2 separate regions of the Homo sapiens genome follow, and region 2 is linked to region 1. The links are contacts of gene promoters, found by promoter capture Hi-C in blood cells and fetal thymus (Javierre and others, 2016). All regions are on one chromosome and are shown on one strand. Each heading gives the region's core, a stretch centred on a gene start or on the middle of the fragment in contact. The rest is flanking DNA. Distances are from core to core; before and after follow the strand shown. Region 1 holds the start of ANKRD31 (ankyrin repeat domain 31). Region 2 overlaps CERT1 (ceramide transporter 1).

Region 1 (6,930 bases), core at 4,403-6,902:
GTTTGACTGAAACAAAATTGAAAATACCCCTTTCCCGAAAAGACCCCCTTCTTGCCTGGGATCAGTCTGTCTTTTCAGGACTAACAAGTTAGCTATAAGATTAGAAATTACAATTTGGGGGTCATGCAGCCTCTGGCTCCAAGAGTCTGAATCTCCCCAAATTGCTTCTGGGGATAACATCACTACTGTAAAACCTAAAATCAGTGCCCAAGATATTTTGCAGTCCCTGAGCTTGATGGATCAGCTGACACCACCCAGACTGATAATCTGGCTCAACCAGTTCTGCCATCCACCCAGGAACAGAAGACAGCAAGAAAACCTAACTTCCACCCCCTATGATTCCATCTCCAACCTGACCACTCAGCACTCCCCACTTCCCAAGCCCCTACCCACCAAATTATCTTTAAACACTCTGATCCCCAAATGCTCGGCAAGACTGATTTCAGTAATAACAAACTTCGGTCTCCTGCATAGCCGGCTCTGCGTGAATTACTCTTTCTTCATTGCAATTTCCCTGTCTTGATAAATTGGCTCTGTCTAGGCAGCAGGCAAGGAGAACCCATTGGGTGGTTACAGTACTTTCAACTTTCTGAAGTGTTTTATGTCTATTTTATGCCATTTTAAAGTGAAATTGAACTTATTAAATTCTGCACTAAGAAGGGACAGCCTATAGGAGTTGTGGGTGGCATATCCCCACACATATGAATCAGCTATAATGATCGCTAAAAAACAAATTTAGGGCTGGGTGTGGTAGCTTACCCCTGTAGTCCCAGCACTTTGGGAGGCTGAGACGGGCAGATCACCTGAGGTCAGGAGTTCGAGATCAGCCTGGCCAACATGGCGAAGCCCCGTCTCTACTAAAAAAATACAAAAATTAGCCAGGTGTGGTGGCACATGCCTGTAATCCCAGCTATGAAGGAGGCTGATGCAGAAGAATTACTTCAACCCGGGAGGCGGAGGTTGCAGTGAGCCGAAATCGCATCACTGTGCTCCAGCCTTGGCAACAAAAGTGGAACTCCGTCTCATAAATAAATAAATAAATAAATAAATAAACAAACAAATTTAGGTACTAAACCAACACTTAATCATGTGCAAACTTGCCTTTGTGTGCTCCATTATTTTGCAGTTTTTGAGAAAAGATTTCACATATCCTGATTTTTCAGTTACATACTTATTCCCATCCATTAAAAAAGTTTACATGACAGCTTTAATTTGTGCCAAACATGTGAATTGCTTGGGTTAATGGATTAGTAACTTATTTTTGTTTAAAAAAAAGTCTAAGTCTTTGAGAAAATGATTCTTTTGGAAAGTGTATTTTTTTTTTTTTTTTTTTTTTTTGACACAGGATCTCACTTTGTCACCCAGGCTGGAGTGCAGTGGTGCAATCATAGCTCACTGCAACTCCTGAGCTCAAGGGATCCTCCTGCTTCAACCTCCCGAGTACCTGGGTCAAATGTGCGCCACCACTTCTGGCTAATTTATTTTTATTTTTGTAGAGATGGGGGTCTCTCTATGTTGCCCAGGCTCCTCGGCTCAAGTGATCCTCCCATCTCTGCCTCCCGAAGTGCTGGGATTACAAACATGAACCATTGTGCCCTGTCGGGAAAGTGTATTTTAAAATACTTATCATGGAATACTTGGTGAAATACTTCATATAGTTTTATTTTGGGGAGAAATATTACTAAGGTGAAAGTGGCTGCTGGATTTAGTCTCTTAGAGATTCATATTGTGTTATGATAAATCAAATCTTCCATGAAAGTCTCATCTCTTACAGTTCTAGGATCCAAAGTAACCTGGATAGGAAATAAATAATATGAAGCTATAGGCAGCGAAGAATCTTAATTATAAAAGCAAAATATATTGTGTAATCACAAAATAATGAGCCTTCTTTTTCTTTTTAAACATCAAAAAAAAATTTTAAATTCACCTTTACAACAATAATTCCCCAAGAGGACATTTTTCTTGTAAGATTATAGCCCAAATGGAGTAGACCAAGTAAAATTTAATTACATTTCTTAAAAATTATGGCCAGGCGTGGTGGCTGAAGCTTGTAATCCCAGCACTATGGGAGGCCGAGGTGGGTGAATCACCTGAGGTCAGGAGTTCGAGGCCAGCCTGACCAACATGGAGAAACCCCGTCTCTACTAAAAATACAAAATTAGCCGGGTGAGGTGGCACATATCTGTAATCCCAGCTCCTTGGGAGGCTGAGGCAGGAGAATCACTTGAACCCGGGAGGTGGGAGGTTGCAGCGAGCCAAGATCGCGCCATAGCACTCCAGCCTGGACGACAAGAGCGAAACTCCGTCTCAAAAAAAAATTTTTTTTCCCCCTCATTAACTATGGTTATTCTGAATATAAAGTGTATAGGAGAGGCAGGATAAAGTCTTTTTATCGTTATTAATTTTAGAATAATAAATGGTGTCTAGCAACCTCCAAAAGTAGCCAATTATTATTTTTTAATAATAATGTTTACAGATTTTTACATACTCGGCGATGTTTTAATCTATTTGAAAATTCAAACTAATTCAAAAGAAAGCTGAGCTCTATTTCCTTTGAAACACAGTTGCAGTACCTGATTCCTGCCATTCCTGAAATACCTGGGAAACCTCTCCTTGGTTCAATTACATGACTCAACTCACCCTGCTTAAACCAGTATGAATTGTACTGCAGCCTAGATTTCCTAAAACAGATCTTCTGTTCATTTTTCCACCTCTGTCCTGCACTGAAACTTTGGATTTCATAAAAACAAACAAAAAAAGGTTTATTTAAAATCACACTGGCATTTATGAGGCTCATCTCTGCCATTTCTTTTTCATTCTTTGAATCTTAGCAACTCTCTTAAATAAAAGGAGAACAGATGATGCAAAAATAACTGACTTTTTCCCGCCAAAAGAGAAAGCATTTTTAAAAAGAATGTGAATTTCAGGCCCAGAAGAATGTGAATTTATCTATAGCAGATCCTCGAATAACATTTATTTCAATGGTGTTTCAACACTGATGAGGGAAGAAAATTATTATACTTCCCAGCCAGGGCCACTGTGTATGTGGAGTTTGCATGTTCTCCCTATGTCAGCATGTTTCCTCCAGGTATTCTGGTTTCCTCTCACATCCCAAAGATGTGTATGTTAGGCTCATTGACTTATCTAACTGGTCTCAGAATGAGTGTGTGTGTGTGAGTGAGCACGCTCTTCAATGAAATGGCCTCCTGTGCTGGGTTGGCTCCTGCCTTGAGCCCTGAGCTGCCAGGATAGGCTCCAGCCACTCTCAACCCTGAACTGGAATGACTAGGTAAATAATTATCTTATTTGTTTTTATTAGTCTTTCTTAAATATATATATTTTTATTAATCTTTCTTAAATATATATGACATTTCTTATATATATTTATTAAATATATATTAAATATATTAAGAAATATCTTAAATATATATCTTAGATATTTATTATATATATTAAATATATTAAGAAATATCTTAAATATATATCTTAGATATTTATTAAATATATTAAATATTTATTATTAAATATATATTTAATAAATATCTGATATATATTTAAGATATTTCTTAAATATATATATTTAATAAATATATATATAGCTCACGTTTATTTCAATGTTTAATAGTAAAGGTGTTTTGGTGTTTATTTACAAGTTTGGTAATGTTTTTGTGACCAGAAATATGTTGTAAGAACTTAACTCTCATATATATCAATTAGACAATGGTAAAATTGGTTTCCTTGTAAGTCATTTTGTTTTAGGTTGCAGTTTCCAAGACCCTACCGACAGACATTAAGTGAGGACTTATTGCACTTAGCTTGTTACCAGCTGTTTGGAGCAAGTACTGTTACTAGTGGAGTCATCTTTCCCTCTGGGGCAAATGGAGCCACTCACCACCATTTACTGGGTATGCATCCCCCAATTCCTGTGAAAGCAGAGTTGGATAATTAAAAGAATGGGTGAAGTGGGCATAGTGGCATGAGATTGTAGTTCCGGCTATTTGGGAGGGTGAGGTGGGAGGACAGCTTGAGCCCAGGAGTTGGAGATTAGCTTGGGCAACACAGAAGAATGCGCTAATGAATTAATTAAACAGTGGGTGAGCAGGAAAGGTGATAGGAATTTAGGTCTGATTTAGACACGGAGGGTATAAATGGACTACTGTTAAAAAAAATAAAAAAGAGGTCTAGTTCTTTGCATATTTATTATTGCTCTGCCTAATTTACAGAGTTGAGGCGAGGAATTTTATTTAAGTAAGTTACTTATTCAAGTAAGTTTATTTTTTTATTTTTTGAGACATGGTATGACTCTGTTGCTCAGGCTGGAGTGCGTTTGCTCAATCATAGCTCATTATAACCTCAAACTCCTGGGCTCAAGCGATCCTCCCGCCTCAACCTGAGTAGCTGGGACTACAGGCCCATGCTACCATGCCCTGCTAATTAAAAACAAATTTTTTGCAGAGATAGGGGTCTCACCATGTTGCCCAGGCTGGTCTTGAACTTCTGGTCTCAAGCAATCCTCCTGCCTCGGCCTCCAATGCATTGAGGTTACAGGTAGAGCCACCACCCCCAGCCTCAAGTTAAGTTTAGAAGATAATCACCAATCAAGCATTTTAAATAGCAGTGGCTTGAATATACATAGTAAAAACACAAAATAATAATAATGATAATAATGGCAAAGCTACTCCATATAGTGAAAAGGGCAATGAATTGGGAAGTCAGAAATCTCTAGCTCCATCCATTTATGACAAAACTTAGACTTTATATGTGCTAGATGCTGGAGACTCCAAGGTGAATACTAAACACTTGCTATGGGAAAACAACTTGGTCTTTTCTTGAATCTTCTTCTCACTTGGCAAGTGGAAGCTCACTTGGCTTTGTTTTGAATTAGTTTGAATTAAAAATGTTCAACTAGACTGAAACACATCAAATATATAAAATTCTAGTACTTCATTAAAACGCAATTGACTACTTTTGGAGGTTGCTAGGCATTACTATTATTATAAAAATTGATAAAAGAGGAAAAAATAAAGCATTTATCCTGCCTTTCCTGCATAATCTGTATTTCAGGTAACCAAAGCGTTGTTGAGAGAAAAAAAAAATGCAAAATACATCACTGAGATTAGTTGATGAGCTAAAACTTCTGATAAACGTATCTGTTTTGTCTACCTCAGAGGACACTTGAGGAGAGGCTGTCAAGGGATTAAAGGGAAAGGAAGCACTTGGTGGGCTGCAAAAACTCTCTTTAGGTCTAAGGTCGCATTCTGGCTCCAGAATGCCAGGGCTGCTGGGGCGGGCAGGAGCTGACAGCTCTTCCCGTATCTGGGGCTCACAAGCATCAGGTGCATGGCAGGTCACCCTCCCGGCCAAGGGTGTTAAGCAGGCTCGGTCTGAGTTCTGGGTGCGCCACGCCTGCCTTTCTGGTCTCTGCAGCAGCAACCCCAGCACCCTCAAAGCCTAGCGACCGAGAATGAGAAACCGTGAAAAAAACACGCAGCGGCAGGCCACGCCCAGAGTAGGCCTGCGCGCGCGCGCGCGGCCTCCCACTTCCGGCCACGGGAGCTGGGGGCGGGGCCGAGCGCTGCGCAGGGCTCCGTCGTGTGGCGAGCGGCTGCCCCCTGTCTGCGACGAGCGGCGGGACCCGCGGGCCGCCTCGCAGACTGCTACCCCGCCGCGCTCGCGGCCGCCTGCGTCCTCCTCAGCAGCCCTGCGACAAGTCCCGGCTCCTGCTGCGATTATATTATTTTTATTTTTAATTCACAATTTCCCCTGGCCCTCAAAGCGTTTTTTTGTTTGCGGGCAAGAGGGAGTTAGAGGAGGGTAAAAAAGACTTTGAATGTGAGGCAAAGATGGAGGAAGGCGTCCAGGCCCCAGACTGGGACAGTGATGAAACTGTGATAGAGGGTTCAGTGACGGAGAGCGACCTGGAAGAAAAGGAGCTGCCCTGGAGAAGGTGACCATCATTAGGGCCACAGTGCCTGAACCCTCGCGCCAGGGCGGCCCAGGTGCCCTCTGAGGGGGTCAGAGTTTTGAGTGGAGATCGTGACCAGAACATGTGCTTGTGGGCAGGATCAGAGCCTTGTGGGGCAGCCGTGCCTGAGCTGAGAGCTTGTAAATAAGCAAACACAGTCTGTTCCCACCTACCCCCAACCAGCTAGGGATAAAATGAGGTTTGTACTAGGTGGCTTTATAGCATTTTTCAAAAGGCTTTCCTTTTGGGGGCTTTAAGTCTTTTTGCACAAGCAAAAAAGATCTTGGGTCTGAACTTAACTGCATTTTGTTTCAGGAGACTTCATTTTGCTTCAAGAGACTCGTAGCTCAGTTCTAGGAAAATGGGTAACAGTTTCTCTCAAGAAAAGAATGTGTGATGGGGAAACTGGTCCCTGCCAAACTGGAAACGAATAGTTTTATACGAATCCAAAAAAGTCGGTATTTCAGGTTATCGAAACCTTTCTCTAACATATTCTCTGTGCTAGACACAGGGAAAAGAGGGCAGGGATGAGGCCACTAGGTCTGCTTCATATGTGCTCAGGGCTGTGTCTGGGACTTAAGTTGGATCGTACACAGAATTAGGTCATTCTCCTTTCCCTCTCTCTCTTCTCCAGGATTCTCCTGCCCCCTTTCCTCATCATACCCACTTGCCAGTTCATATGATCAGAAAGACAGGTTTCTTTGAGTGTTAGCCTTTTCACTATACAGCAGTTCCTTACAAGGGGGACAGCCTTTAGCACAGAGTTAAGAAAAGAGAGAAAAAAGGGGGATTCTGTCCACACTTTTCAGGCAATACCGATCCCTTTTCCCAGTTCCTCTGGTAGACACTTTCTCTTGAGTTTTATGTTCCCCAGTTGCCATGGTTGGTGTCTGCTCTGAGGCTAGGGCCAGCCTTGGGGCAGGGCTGGGAGGTGAGAGAGAAAGCAACATAAAGCCCTGGGCTTT
Region 2 (7,435 bases), core at 306-2,805, 270 kb before region 1:
GTAGTTTCATCACTGCTCATAAGATGGGAAGCTGACTGCCATATTAGTATTGTGATGTGTTAAGTATTTTACGAAACAAATTGTACTTTTGACCTACTGATAATTACTTTTTTGGGGGTTGGGGGAGTGGAGTGACCGGGGGAAAAAGTAACCAGTGCTCTGGAGTAGGTATACTATAGATAAAAAAATGGAAGACCAATCTCGATATTTAAATGCATACAAATGTATTTGATCACCTCTATGGAAGGTGAATAGCTTAAATTTTGACTGTTGCTGCATATGTAGAATGAATAGGAATAAAGCTTTTGGTATTCTTGCTCAAAGCTATGAAGGAAATTTTCCTGAGATTTACCAATTTATGGTTATATACAGTTTTCTGGAAGCTTTTTAATCAAGGGTATTCTAAATTGAGTATATATACTCATACTGAGTATGGTAGATGTTTTTAAATGTAAATTATATAGTTTGAATTCTTTGTATTCACCTGGTAATTTAAACAAAGGTCAGAACTCGGATTTTGTTCTTTTCCTTCCATTGAGTAATGTAAATAAGTCCCGGTACAATTCATTTTGTTTCTCCCCCAAAATGGGGTGGATTTGGAATGGGCTTGGGTAAATTTATATTAGAAATATACCAGTTCAAAGGGTATTTTCCATATGGTAATCTGAAATACATGGAAATACCTATGAAGCATATTTCTTATAAATCACTTAAGTGTATAGATTCCAAAAATACTAGATAGACAATAATTCTATCTAGTTATAGCAAGTATCGTGATGGATCATGGTGGGGAAAAGATGCATGCCTTAGTAGGACTTGAGAGCACCTAAGCCTGGATAAAATAATCTCATTCAATTTCTGAATTTCCTCCATCCTTCATGGTTTACCTTCTGTTTTTCCACACACCAAACTGTTTGAAATTCTGTCCATCCTTAAGAGTCCAAGCCAAATACTGTCCTTTCCATAAAGCCTTTTCTTATTTTGCCATCATTCAAGACCTCCTTCACTTGAATTCCCATAGCATTTTGTTTGTAGCTTGCTTCTGACTCTTATTCTAAATATATATTTTTTTCTCTTGAGTTTGTGTCTGCTGGCCTGTTGGCCACAGTAATATTTGATTCCCCTGCAGTGTCTAGCATATTGCCTTATCTGTATTTGTTAAATGGGGAAGAGTGAGGGAACATTATGAGAGCAGAGAAAAGACAAAAAACTTGTCTTCCAGGTGTCATGATACAGCTAATACTTACTGAGTAAAGGGTCCTGAAGCTGATACAGTTTGTTCAGTCTCTTATAAGAACTAATATTAAGTTATGGATACATAATTGCTGGGGCTTCTCCTCTAACATTGAAAGAGTTCTATTCTAGTGAGAAATGCTGAAGGTTAAGCTTCATTAGCTATGTATAACTCTTCCTCAGATTCAGAAAATACTATGTCCAGGCACTGTTCTAAGTCTATTCTTGTTTAAACTTAACTCTAAGAGAATTTGACAAAGAAAAAAAGAACACAAAGAGAATAAGTAACTTGACCACTGTCACAAAGTTTAGCCTTATGAAGTGTGGTAATTGTAAATGAGGTAGGATTAATCCATGAAGGGTCTTGAATGCCCTAAACAATTTGTATGACAGTCAGTGGGAAGTTGTCCATGTAAGTTTTGGAGCTAGAGACTCAATACGATCAATGTAAGAAAAGTAGGCAAATATGCTTAGTAAGTAAATAAGCTTGTGTAAATTATGAAAAAAACAGAAGATACTAGAGAAAAAATTATTAAGTCTCCTAAGGAATACAGGAACTGGATAATTTGATTGGAATAGTTGAAAATGAGAAGAGGAGGCAAATTTAAGGGTTTACTATGAAGGAAAGATGAGCAGCTTTTGGTAATGGGCTATAAATATTGAGAAGGAACACTTAGGTATTGAGTATCTTCTGTGACTATGCTAGGCATTTTCATTATTTTATTCGGCCGTCAGTCAACAGGCAAAGAAACTGAAGTTTACAAAAGTAACTTGTCAAAACTCTCTTCACATGAGTTATAAAATAGTTGAGCCTATTTTATCCTATATCCACTAATCTGTTTGTATATCTAATACACTAACTCTGAGCAGAAGTAGCAGTCTCCCCAAGGAAGTAGGAAAATAGGAAGGAAGTATACTTTATAGGAAGGTGAATTCAGTTTTATTGGTAACTATCATTTATTTCAAGCCCGTGTCTAAGTGGTGGTACATCTCAAGCAGTTAGAAATAAGGAAATGGTGATTGGGAGCCACTAGAATGAGTTAAATGTTGGCTTGGGTGAGTTCTCAGAGAGTGGTTGTAATGATGGGGCTTAGAAAAATTAAGAACTGGCTAGGGATGGTGGCTCACCTGTAGTCCCAGCACTTTGGGAGACCAAGGAAGACAGATCGCTTGAGCCCAGGAGTTTGAGACGAGCCTTGGCACCATAGCGAAACCTCATTTCTACAAAAAATTAGCCAGATGTGGGGGTGCACACCTGTAGTCTCAATCACTTGGGAGGCTGAGGTGGGAGGATTGAGCCCAGGAGATTGCGGTAAACTGAGATGGTGCCACTGCACTCCATCCTGGGTGACAGAGCGAGACCCTGTCTCAAGAAAATACTAAATAAAAGAAAATTTAAGAAGTGAATCAATCTCAAAAATGCTTAATTAGAGAACAGAAAAATAAAAGATTTCTCAGTGGATATAGAGCCTGAGCCAATGCAGTATATTTTGGCAATCCATTTTTAATTAGTTTTTGGAATTGGCAGATAGTTTTTGAGATTTTTCTATACTTAACACCCCAGAGCATAGATAAAAACATGCAAAAATAAGTATTCCTGTAAAGGTTACATTTCTGCCTTTTCCAGTTTATTGTGATCTTCACTTTGCAGCAAGACTTTAGCAACACAGAAACTCTTAAGGTATTGAAGACAATCCAATATGTTTTTGAAAAGCAATTTTATTTTTGTTTTATTACTCTTGAGTTTGAAAAATGCATGTTCAGAGGAACTTGGAAAATGTATTGGCCATTTTTAATATTATTCAGTTCTGTAGAGGAAAAGTTAAAGTTGATGCCAGCTTACTAAAGATTATTATTTTTATTTTGATATAGTTACAGCTGTTATAAATTTTCATATAGGAATAACAACAAAAGTAGAGTTTAGCAATAATTGACTTTATACTTCCGTTGATTTAGAAGGCTTCATGCAGTCTTTGGTGTCAGAATGAGAGACTACATACATAACTGAACATACTTCTCTGTTGAATATGTTAATTATGACAAGGACCAAAACAAATATCATGAAGGTACTTAGGAGAGGATGAAAGCATACGAAGAATAAACAATAATTTTAACCAAAATCTGGCTTTCGTTTTATTCTTCAAATGTTAGAAGAAAATGTTATATTTTATTTCTTACAGATTTATTTATAATATTGTAAAAATTACTGAAAATCATTATGCAATCTAGAAAATCTCAACTTTTCACTTTTTGTAATCATTTTACTGTTTATGCTTAGAATTAAGTTGGACTTTTCACGTTTTGGTTTTAAAATTAGATTGCTGTTTCACAAAGTTTGGATTTCTAAAATACTTCTATTTTTTGTTTTCTTCTCTCTTCCCTTCCCCTTCCCACTCCCAGTGGACAAACTACATTCATGGGTGGCAGGATCGTTGGGTAGTTTTGAAAAATAATGCTCTGAGTTACTACAAATCTGAAGATGAAACAGAGTATGGCTGCAGAGGATCCATCTGTCTTAGCAAGGCTGTCATCACAGTAAGTTCCTTTTCTTCTTCATTCAACAAATATTTATTGAGTGTCAGCTACATACCAGGAACTGTTCTACGTGTTCAGGATACATCCGTGGATAAGATAAAGATCCTTGTCCTTGTAGAATATACATTCTAATACTTTTTTCCATAAAGTGATTTTACTGTGGTTTTTACTACATATTGTTATTTTGCATAGACATGTAGTTTTTATCTGGTGGGTATATCAAACCAGTTTAAGGGCTTCAGGAAAAAAAAATGTTTGAAGCCTTTTTATTTGTTGAGGCTGGGACAGTTACTTTGTAGGTTACTGAATATTTAAAAATAATACATCTTGTAAGTAACATTCTAAAATTTTAACTTAAAAATATAAATGTAAATTCATTTTTAAACTTTTTAACATTGAGCTAATGCCATCTCTTTGTGGAGTTGGGAGAAGCTGTTCTCATGTTCCTCACACATGATTTGCTATTTACAGTTTTGATTTCTCTAATGTGGAATAAAAGCCTGAAGATAACTTTTGAAAAACTCTAAGTATAGGCTCCTTCTAACTTTTTATGATTTCCCCTTATATTTTGCAGTTACATCACTTTTCTCCAATTCAACACCCTTTAAAAGAATAACTCACCTTCGTTGAGTCATTCTACTTAGTTTACATTTTGTTGTTCTTTTTTTGTTTTTTTGTTTTGTTTTGTTTTGTTTTTGAGACAGTCTTGCTCTGTCACCCAGGCTGGAGTGCAGTTCTGTGGTCTCAGCTCACTGCAACCTCGACCTCCCAGGTTCAAGCAATTCTTCTGCTTCAGCCTCCCAAGTAGCTGGGACTATAGCCACGTGCCATCACGCCCGGCTAATTTTTGTATTTTTAGTAGAAATGGGGTTTCACTGTGTTGGCCAGGCTGGTCTCAAACTCCTGACCTCAAGTGATCCACCCACCTCAGCCTCCCAAAGTGCTGGGATTACAGGCATGAGCCACCGCGCCTGGCCTACTTAGTTTACATTTAACTTAGTATATAGAAACAACTGTTCCTTTTTGCACTCGTAGTCATTAGACATGAATAATGTTTAAGATATGTAAGAACTATAACAAGTAAACTGGCATAAACAGGTTTGGGAACAACCAACTGACTTGTTAAGCATGTAACCCAACTAGTGAGAACAGAAGTACCTGATAATACAAAAAATAGCATACTGGTTAAGAATGGTCAGCATGCCATGGGCCAAAAAAAAAAAAAAAAAAGTGTTGGCTAAGGCCAGACAGTTAAATAGAGGTCAGTTAAGGGAGCTGTTGTAGTTAAAATCTGAAAATGGGTACGTTAAAACAAAAATACAGAGTTTACTAACTCACTCAAAGAGAAGTCACATTTTGTGATAGAATTTATTTGGCTTATAAAAGTGAAAGATATATATATAATACTTCAGATTTCCGTTAATATCTAATCCTTACTTAGCGTATGTTTGTTATGCATTTAGGGAAAATCTTACAGTATTTTTACATTATTTTTTATACATTATTTCCCCCCTTGTATATTCAAAGTTTGAAAACAAAAGTTTAGAATTGAATATCAAGTTAGAGAAACACAGAAGAAATATTTGGAAGTGTTGATAATGAAACTACGCTCTCTATTCTTAGAGACAATTTTTAGGAAATAGCTTTAACATAAAGGCTCAGTATTTATTTTGACTGGTATGTGGTACATTGTAATGTGTTTAGAAATTGTATCTAGTTTAATATTTTGGGTGTTTTTCTTCCGAGATAGATCATTATTCATATCAATGGACAGAATAGTGGATTGAAATGTACCTTGCGATCTTGAAGTGTTTTTCCTTGATCCTCCACTCCCCTTCTTTTGCGTATTATTATTGGATGTTTATTAGTTGCAATGCTTAACTCTTTGAAAATAGTATAATGATTGATGTAAAAATGGGGAGGAATTAAATTTTATCTTTATTATTCTCTAAGTAGTAGTATTCCTAGAGTACCATGCTAGTTTCTGTGGATTTAAATATAGTTATTCTGTCTTGAATTATGGACTATAATAATGTTGCCTGGCTTATTTGGAGAAAAGAAAATTTTAAATTAAACATTTAATTTAAATGTTTAATTTAAATTAAACAAAAAATTTAAATGTTTAATTTAAATTAAACAAAAAATTTAAATTTTAACATTTATATCCATCTTCTCAGGAAGAAAACAGTGTTACTTTATTGTAATTGATTTTTGTTATAGCTATATGTACATGCATAACTTTCATTGTGGTACATAGTAAAAGACATGCGTAGGAACAAGAAACAATTTGAATTCTTTGAAGGAGAGATAAAAGTAGAAGTAAAAAGATGAATTAGGCAACAAAATCTGTGTGGTAGTCTTAGATACAATGAAATGGATGATAGGAAAAAACACAAGCATTTATATTATTGAACTTGAACTTTCCTTGCCCTTTGGGTTCACAGACTCCATGTTACATATTTAAAGGAAATTAAAAATATAACTGAATTCAGTGAACTCAGGATGAGTTTACAAATTAGAGTATGTACTTTAGTTAAATAAATAAATGTAATAGTAATATTCCTCATTAAATTTTAATAGGCATCTCTTGGTATTTTTTTTCCTTAAATATGGGCTATGCCTATTGTCACTTCATGTCAGAATACAAAGAATGTAAATGTTTAATTTCTTTATATGGCACTCTTATGAAATTGATAATATTCACGTACAAAGAAATCTGGGCTTGAAGAGTTGATGTGACTTTACTGTAACCATTCATTACTATATTATTTGTTGGTGGACCTAGCATCTGAACCCACATTTCTTGATAGAGCCTAATCCATTTTAAGTTCATTCTTAGTTTAATGATTAAATCACTCTTAATTTATAAAAACAATATTCTTTATCTGTGTGATAATAAAGTGGGTGAAATAATTTCAAGGAAGAAAGTATGTCTTGAGAGAATTTATTCCTTAATGTGAAAGGATTGACAGTAAGTAGGTGAGAGGAAAAATAGTATTCCCTTACTTTGTGTAAAAAGAGCTATTTGTATGTAGAATAAGTGTTTGTAGAAAGACAGTTGAATTCTTCAGTTATTATAGCTTGATACTTAGAAGACCCAGCCCCTGCTACAAAATTTGCCGCATAGTAGATATTCTGAATATGTTAGTTGTAATTGTTTCAATTAAAAGCAAATGTTTATGGAATATTTACACTGTTTACTTTTTATATTCTATTTTTAAAATAAAGTGCACATGATAAAAAATATAATTTGTGGCATTAAAAAGTTTAAGAAGTACATGCTGCTTTTTAGTCTTGCACTTGAGGGACAACCAAACTTAAATTTCTGGTCATCCTTTCAGAAAATATGTAGGACTATACAAGGATTTGTTTATATCTTTCATAAATATTTACACAAATGGTATCATATTAAGCCTATTGTTCTGCACCTTGTTTTAATACAACTTACACATTAACTGTTATATTCTGTTGAATCGTGTGGATATATTATATTTATTTGCCTGGACCCTGTTTTTGCACATTTAAATCATGCCTAATTTTTATTACAATCATTATTGAAACAAATATGTACTTTAAAATTTGTTTTTAGTTATTGTCAAATACTCCTTCAAGAGTACCACTCCTCACTCCTACCAGTAGTGAATGAGTGCCTCTGTTTCTCCTTACC

Evidence for each region. The method cuts DNA at HindIII sites, captures the fragments that hold promoters and counts their contacts. A CHiCAGO score of 5 or more calls a contact.
Region 2: a contact is called between a fragment that was not itself captured here and the fragment with the promoter of ANKRD31 in region 1, in 1 of 17 cell types (neutrophils). The highest score is 5.5, in neutrophils.

Annotation. Positions count from the first base shown.
Region 1 is chr5:75,235,600-75,242,529 of GRCh38, reverse strand. ANKRD31 (ankyrin repeat domain 31) reads left to right here and starts at 5,652. Exons shown (of 26, transcript NM_001372053.1): 1 at 5,652-5,947. The coding sequence starts at 5,844. It overlaps LOC124901006 (a long non-coding RNA gene), which reads right to left and starts at 5,492. Exons shown (of 2, transcript XR_007058823.1): 1 at 5,164-5,492; 2 at 1,642-1,793. RefSeq lists a silencer at 5,412-5,711 and an enhancer at 5,762-5,931. The HindIII fragment of the contact is 5,895 bases long and covers 2,050-6,930 here.
Region 2 is chr5:75,502,315-75,509,749 of GRCh38, reverse strand. CERT1 (ceramide transporter 1) reads left to right here. Exons shown (of 17, transcript NM_001379029.1): 2 at 3,634-3,768. Among named protein-coding and RNA genes, the nearest start is that of CERT1, 5.6 kb to the left of the region's middle. The HindIII fragment of the contact is 333 bases long and covers 1,389-1,721 here.